2 separate regions of the Homo sapiens genome follow, and region 1 is linked to region 2. Evidence: promoter capture Hi-C in human tissues and cell types (Jung and others, 2019). All regions are on one chromosome and are shown on one strand. Each heading gives the region's core, a stretch centred on a gene start or on the middle of the fragment in contact. The rest is flanking DNA. Distances are from core to core; before and after follow the strand shown.

Region 1 (2,879 bases), core at 51-2,550, 98 kb after region 2:
CACCCCAGTTGCACTGGCTGAGCACAGGAGGGGTATCAAGATCAGGCAGAGTTGCACGTGCTCACGGCAGCAGGAGCATCTCCTGCATCTGGTGCCCCTGGCCCCAGTCCCCATTCCGTAGCTCAACTCAGCAGCACCTCCCGCTCCTGCAAAGGAGACCATGGTGAGGGCAGGAGAAGGGCATAGCCTGCTGAACGCAGGGTGTCTCTTCTCTAGGTTGTGAGGCTGAGGCTTTTTCACCCCCACTTCCTGGAAGTTCCCTCAACGGAACCTGCCAGAAATCTGCCCCTTAGGATGCTAGGGGAAAAGCTTTTGCTGGGGAAAGGCTCGCCAGAGGCATCTGCTATAAAACCGGCGAGGAGGGTGCTGCTGACCAGGGCAGGGGACAGGCGTCGGGGAAGCCCGGGGCCGCCAGCCGCAGGGCCAAGCCCTTTTCTCCTGCAACGTCTCTGGCGCCCTCTACCGACAAAGCCTAACAGCGCCAGCTGGCAAAAGAGAAATACCGAATATTTGAGCCGCCCAGATACGCTTTCGCAGAGAGCATCGGTGAATCCTGGGCAATACACTGACAACTGGAAAAAACGTTTAGAGATCCCTTAAGTGCTCCATGTTTTCCCAACATTTACCCACGGCTCGCTCTAACATCTGAAATAATAGTAATCATTTTTGAAATTATTTTGATGGAATTAAACAATTCCAGCACTTGTTAAATAGGCACATACTTAATTTGCAAAACGCCGTGCAAGAACCCGTAGCGCACCTGGAGAAAACTGTCTGGAGGCGGCTCAGGCACTCCGGGTCCAGGCAGGACGCGGGACGGGGAGGGGCCAGGCCTGGCGCCCGGGGCTGAGCCCGCTCCTGCTGCTCGGGGCGTCCACGCCCCGCGGCCTCTGGGAGGGGCCTGTGGCAGGAGGGAGGCCCGGGAGAACAGGCCCTTTCCTGGGCCACGGGGGAAACCCCTGCCCCAGGTGTGTGTCTCTCAAATGCTGCGTCGGGCCACGCGAGGATTGTTTTGTGGCTACAACAAAATTAACTATGCTTGCACAAAACTTTAGCCAATACCTCAAAGGGAAACGTAAAAGGGGAAAGACGCACTCTTACCCCACCCACTCCAAGGCAGCAGTCAGCACACCCAAGCCCTCGTGCTCCCACGCGGGTTTCACCGAGTGCCCCACTCCAGGGGGCCCGGAGAGCCGGCCCAGGTCCCGGCCCCGCCCACCCGCGCGGCCCCGCCCCCGGCCGCGAGCGTGCGCGCCCCAAGCGGAGACCCCGCCCCCGGAGCGCGTGCCCGTGCGCCGCCGCCGCCATTTTGGAGCGATCGGAGTGCCGCCCGCGGCCCCGAGTCGGTCTCGAGCCGCCGGCCGGCCGTGCCGGTGTCCGTAGGCGCTGCGCCCTCGGCCGGGCCCATGTGTGTGCGGCCCGCCCGAGGCCGCCCGGGCTTTGCCTCCACCAGCGCCCTGGCCTCCGCTCGGGCCTCCACACGGGCCTCCGAAGAGCTGCCGCGACGCCCGGCCCGCAGGGCAGGTGAGTGCGGCCGCCCGCCGCTCAGACCCGGCCCCCAGTCTGCCAGTGCCCCCCAAGTCACTTCTCCCCGAGTCAGTCAGTGCCCCCTCCAGATAGTTATCCCCCAGTCAGTCAGTTCCCCCTCCAGTCAGTTCCCCCCAGTCGGTGCCCCCGGAGTCAGTGCCCCCCCCAAGTCAGTCAGTGCCCCCTCCAGTCAGTTCCCCCCCAGTTAGTGCACCCTCTAGTCAGTTCCCCCAGTCAGTGCCCCCTCCAGTCAGTTCCCCCCCAGTCAGTTCCCCCCCAGTCAGTTTCCCCCCAGTCAGTTTCCCCCCAGTCAGTGCCCCCCAGTCAGTGCCCCCTCCAGTCAGTTCCCCCCCAGTCAGTGCCCCCTCCAGTCAGTTTCCCCCCAGTCAGTGCCCCCTCCAGTCAGTTCCCCCCCAGTCAGTGCCTCCTCCAGTCAGTTTCCCCCAGTCAGTGCCTCCTCCAGTCAGTTTCCCCCAGTCAGTGCCCCCTCCAGTCAGTTCCCCCCCCAGTCAGTGCCCCCTCTAGTCAGTTCCCCCCCAGTCAGTGCCCCCTCTAGTCAGTTCCCCCCCAGTCAGTGCCCCCTCTAGTCAGTTTCCCCCCAGTCAGTGCCTCCTCCAGTCAGTTTCCCCCAGTCAGTGCCTCCTCCAGTCAGTTTCCCCCAGTCAGTGCCTCCTCCAGTCAGTTTCCCCCAGTCAGTGCCCCCTCCAGTCAGTTCCCCCCAGTCAGTGCCCCCCCAGTCAGTTTCCCCCCAGTCAGTGCCCCCCAGTCAGTGCCCCCCAGTCAGTGCCCCCTCCAGTCAATTCCCCCCAGTCAGTGCCCCCTCCAGTCAGTTCCCCCCCCAGTCAGTGCCCCCTTCAGTCAGTTCCCCCAGTCAGTGCCCCCTCCAGTCAGTTCCCCCCCAGTCAGTGCCCCCCCAGTCAGTTTCCCCCCAGTCAGTGCCCCCCAGTCAGTGCCCCCTCCAGTCAATTCCCCCCAGTCAGTGCCCCCTCCAGTCAATTCCCCCCAGTCAGTGCCTCCTCCAGTCAGTTTCCCCCAGTCAGTGCCCCCTCCAGTCAGTTCCCCCCAGTCAGTGCCCCCCCAGTCAGTTTCCCCCCAGTCAGTGCCCCCCAGTCAGTGCCCCCTCCAGTCAATTCCCCCTAGTCAGTGCCCCCTCCAGTCAGTTCCCCCCCAGTCAGTGCCTCCTCCAGTCAGTTTCCCCCAGTCAGTGCCTCCTCCAGTCAGTTTCCCCCAGTCAGTGCCCCCTCCAGTCAGTTCCCCCCCCAGTCAGTGCCCCCTCTAGTCAGTTCCCCCCCAGTCAGTGCCCCCTCTAGTCAGTTCCCCCCCAGTCAGTGCCCCCTCTAGTCAGTTCCCCC
Region 2 (3,117 bases), core at 19-2,518:
CACGGGGGGCAGGCCCAGTCGGACGTCCATGTCATAAGTGCGGCTGTGCACAAGGGCCCCGAAGAGCGAGACCCGGGTGTCTCTCTCGAACCTGTCACCACAAGGGTCACCAAATGAGAAGAGCCCGACGGTGGGCAGGCCAGTGCCTGGAGCAGCCTCCATAACCTGAAGTGTTTCCTGGATCATGCTGTGACACAAACACTCTTCTCTGGAGATCAGAGACTGAACGTCCATCTCAAACACACTCAGGTCGTCGCAATCATAGCCGCTGTACGGAACGTTTCTCCCCACATGCTTGTTGTTAAGGAAGTAGTCTCGTTTTCTCGGCAGAACTTGAGGGGGACCACTCCCTGCCAGCTGAACCAGGAGGTCCAAAACAGACCCCACCTCCAAAAGCGGACAGCAAGGGGCTGCTTCCAGCTCCTCCACAAGCTCCTCCAAACGGTCGGCCTTGGGGCCCAGGCCACCCACTCTCAAGTCAAAGGACAACATGAGGATCTTGTTTCTCGCTGGTAGTTTTGACATGTCAGGCTGCAGCTGTTGAGTCTCATCTTGAAAAAGATTTGTGAAAAGAGCATTGTAGGCCACCTTCTTGAGGCTCCGCTTTGCCCTCTTCCGGTTCACACTGCGCTGGCCCAGGTGAGTCTTGGCAGCCGGCAGGAGGGCCTCACACAGGTCGTCGAACAGCTGCGTGATGCTGGCCATGCCCCTTCTCAGCTCCGGGCCCCCGGCGTGTGGGAAAACACCTCACCCGGGCTTCACTCACGCTCCGGAAGACAGGGAGTGAGAGAGGGTCCGAAGAGGCTGAATGACAGGCGGCCTCTCCAATGCCGAAGCTCAGAACTGGTATTTTTTAAAGGAGGTCTTGCGGTTGCTCTACTCAGAGTAAACACGCCCTGCCCTCCCCAGTCCAAGCACGCTGCCCGGCGCCCGGCAGCCCACCAGAAGCCAGCTCGGCGTTTCTTCTAATTCAGTAGCCCTCAACCTTTAGGGAGTCACAGAACCGTGGCAAAACCGAAGAACGAAACGCGCGCCCGCGCAGTACAGCGGACGAACTCGGCTTTGCACCCGTTCTTCGGGACCCACGAGAGGAGACGGCCAGGAGAGGGTGCCACTCCGAGGGTCGTGGGCAGCGGAGAGTCTGGGGGCTCAGCCGGGTGGGTCCCGGGTTCTGGCCTGCACGTCCACCCGTTCTCCAGGCCTCACCCGTGGAAAGTGCCCACGGCTGCCGCTCTCGCCGCCTCCGTCGCGTCACAGCCGCGCCAGTGTGAAGAGCACTAGGGCGGGCGCGCCGGAAATACGTCACGGGAACGCCGGCAGCGCGTGAAGTTGGTGAGGCCTGGGCCGCGGCATACTTCCGGCCTGAGTCCGGCACCGCGGGTGAGAGACCGAGGCCGAGCGTGCTCAGTAAAGGAGGCAGAGCCAGCGTTTCGTTTGAGCGATGTTTACTAACGGCGCAAGGGCGGGGAGCGAAGCGCAGCGGGGCGCAGGGGCCGGAACGGGACCGAGCGTGGGTTGCATGGGCCTCGATGGGACGGGCCGGGGCGCGATGGGTGGGGCGGGGGCGAGGTGAGGTGAGGGGTGGAGCGGGGGAAGCACGGGTGGGAGAGGGCGGGGCGCGGGGATTGGGAGTGGGCGGGGTTCCGTGCCCCAGAGTCGAGGGAGCCGTGGGCTTGGGGTCCGGATCGCGGCCGCGGGGCGCTGGCGTGCGGTGTCATTTCTGCGGTGTAAATGCTCCCACCTTGGCCGATTTCAAGCCACCAGGTGAGGATGGCACTACAGGAGGAGCCGAGAAGAGGCGCGCAGTTGGCCTCCGGCGCTGGAGCTGGTTCAGGGCACTCCCCTGCCCTGCCCTCCCCACCGATCTGTGCGGCAGAGCCAGGCCCCAGGGCAGGGCCATGCCTCCGCAGTCAGCCTCACCTGCAACATCTTCCACTGAGGCTCCAGCTGCCCTCTCAGGTACATCAGGGCCTGGACGTCCTCTGGGGAGGCCACAGAGGAAGGGCCTAGGCTAGGAGGTGCCTCTCCATTCAGCACCCGGGCCAGGATCCCTGCTAGCTGGGGTGTGGAGTTCTGGACCAGGGGCGAAGACGGAAGCAGTCACTGGTCCTTTCCCTCGTCCCACCCCGCAGCACCTCCACCCTGCCCAGCTTACCTCCTCCAGGAGGGCCAGGACTCGGCCCCCTGCCAGCCCCCGAAGCATTGCAGCCAGGAGTGCAGCGTGGGGGCCCTGCAGGCCATGGCCAGGCCCCAGCGCCACCAGCACCAGGTCAGGCTGGAAGCCATAGGCCAGGGGCAGCACCAAGCCCAAGATGCAGCTCAGGAAACCACCGGTCATCTGTGGGGACAGCAGAGCCCAGCTCCTCATCTACGGACACCTGCTGGCTCTGGCCTCCCAACCTCCCAATCTCAGGGCCCCTGGAGTAGGAGCAGGGAGACAGGAAGGACCAGAGGCCTGCTATCATGACAATGCCAGCAAACAGCAGCTGTACACATCCATGGGCTCCCCAGCACCTGCCTTGCCGCGTGGCATGGTCACTCACCACTGGCAGTGGCGTGGAGACATGGAACATGGATAGGGCAGCCGCCTCCTTGCCCCTGATGTTCAGCCACAGACTCCTCCTTCCAGGACACAGGTGCATAAGTGTAAGGCCCTGCTCACCCTCCTGAGCCCAAACCGCAGAGGCAGAGGTGGAAGAGCATTCACGGGGCCATGGGCAGGGGTGCTGTGACTGCTGAGCCTCTGTGCTGGAGACCCACCTGGCATTGCCTCCAGCAGCCCTTCTCCCACACCCCAGCTGAGGAAGGCTCCATTCAGTACCACACAGTGCCCCACCCACCCGTCACCCTGGGGCCCAGGCACACGTCCATCACATGCCCGTCCACATGCATGGCTGGACATATGCAAGACCTGAGAGTCCTACCCGTCATGGGCGAGGTCTGGAGGCCGGTCCAGCTGTCCCAGGGCCACGCACAGCAGCCTGGAAGAAGAGCTGGCCTCAGGACAGGTGTTCATGTTGTCCAGAGTCCATTCCCAGAACTCTCTGTGCTTGGCCAGCCAGGATAGGGGTGCCCACAGGTCCTGCCGTCAGAGGCTCAGGATGGCCAAGTGAGGCT

What was found. Contacts are between HindIII fragments. The study calls those that stand out against the background at their distance.
Region 1: the fragment with the promoter of PPP6R2 here is called in contact with the fragment with the promoter of TUBGCP6 in region 2 in 2 of the 25 tissues and cell types used here (lymphoblastoid cells and small bowel).

The regions. Positions count from the first base shown.
Region 1 is chr22:50,342,027-50,344,905 of GRCh38, forward strand. It overlaps PPP6R2 (protein phosphatase 6 regulatory subunit 2), which reads left to right and starts at 1,301. Exons shown (of 24, transcript NM_001242898.2): 1 at 1,301-1,524. RefSeq lists an enhancer at 9-655 and silencers at 752-921, 1,192-1,471, 1,482-1,561. The HindIII fragment of the contact is 17,181 bases long and covers 1-2,879 here.
Region 2 is chr22:50,243,755-50,246,871 of GRCh38, forward strand. TUBGCP6 (tubulin gamma complex component 6) reads right to left here and starts at 1,269. Exons shown (of 25, transcript NM_020461.4): 1 at 1-1,269. The coding sequence starts at 705. It overlaps HDAC10 (histone deacetylase 10), which reads right to left. Exons shown (of 20, transcript NM_032019.6): 16 at 2,925-2,981; 17 at 2,544-2,622; 18 at 2,156-2,338; 19 at 1,921-2,073; 20 at 1,429-1,776. The coding sequence ends at 1,753. RefSeq lists enhancers at 1-788, 362-641, 1,052-1,101 and a silencer at 1,572-1,641. The HindIII fragment of the contact is 41,268 bases long and covers 1-3,117 here.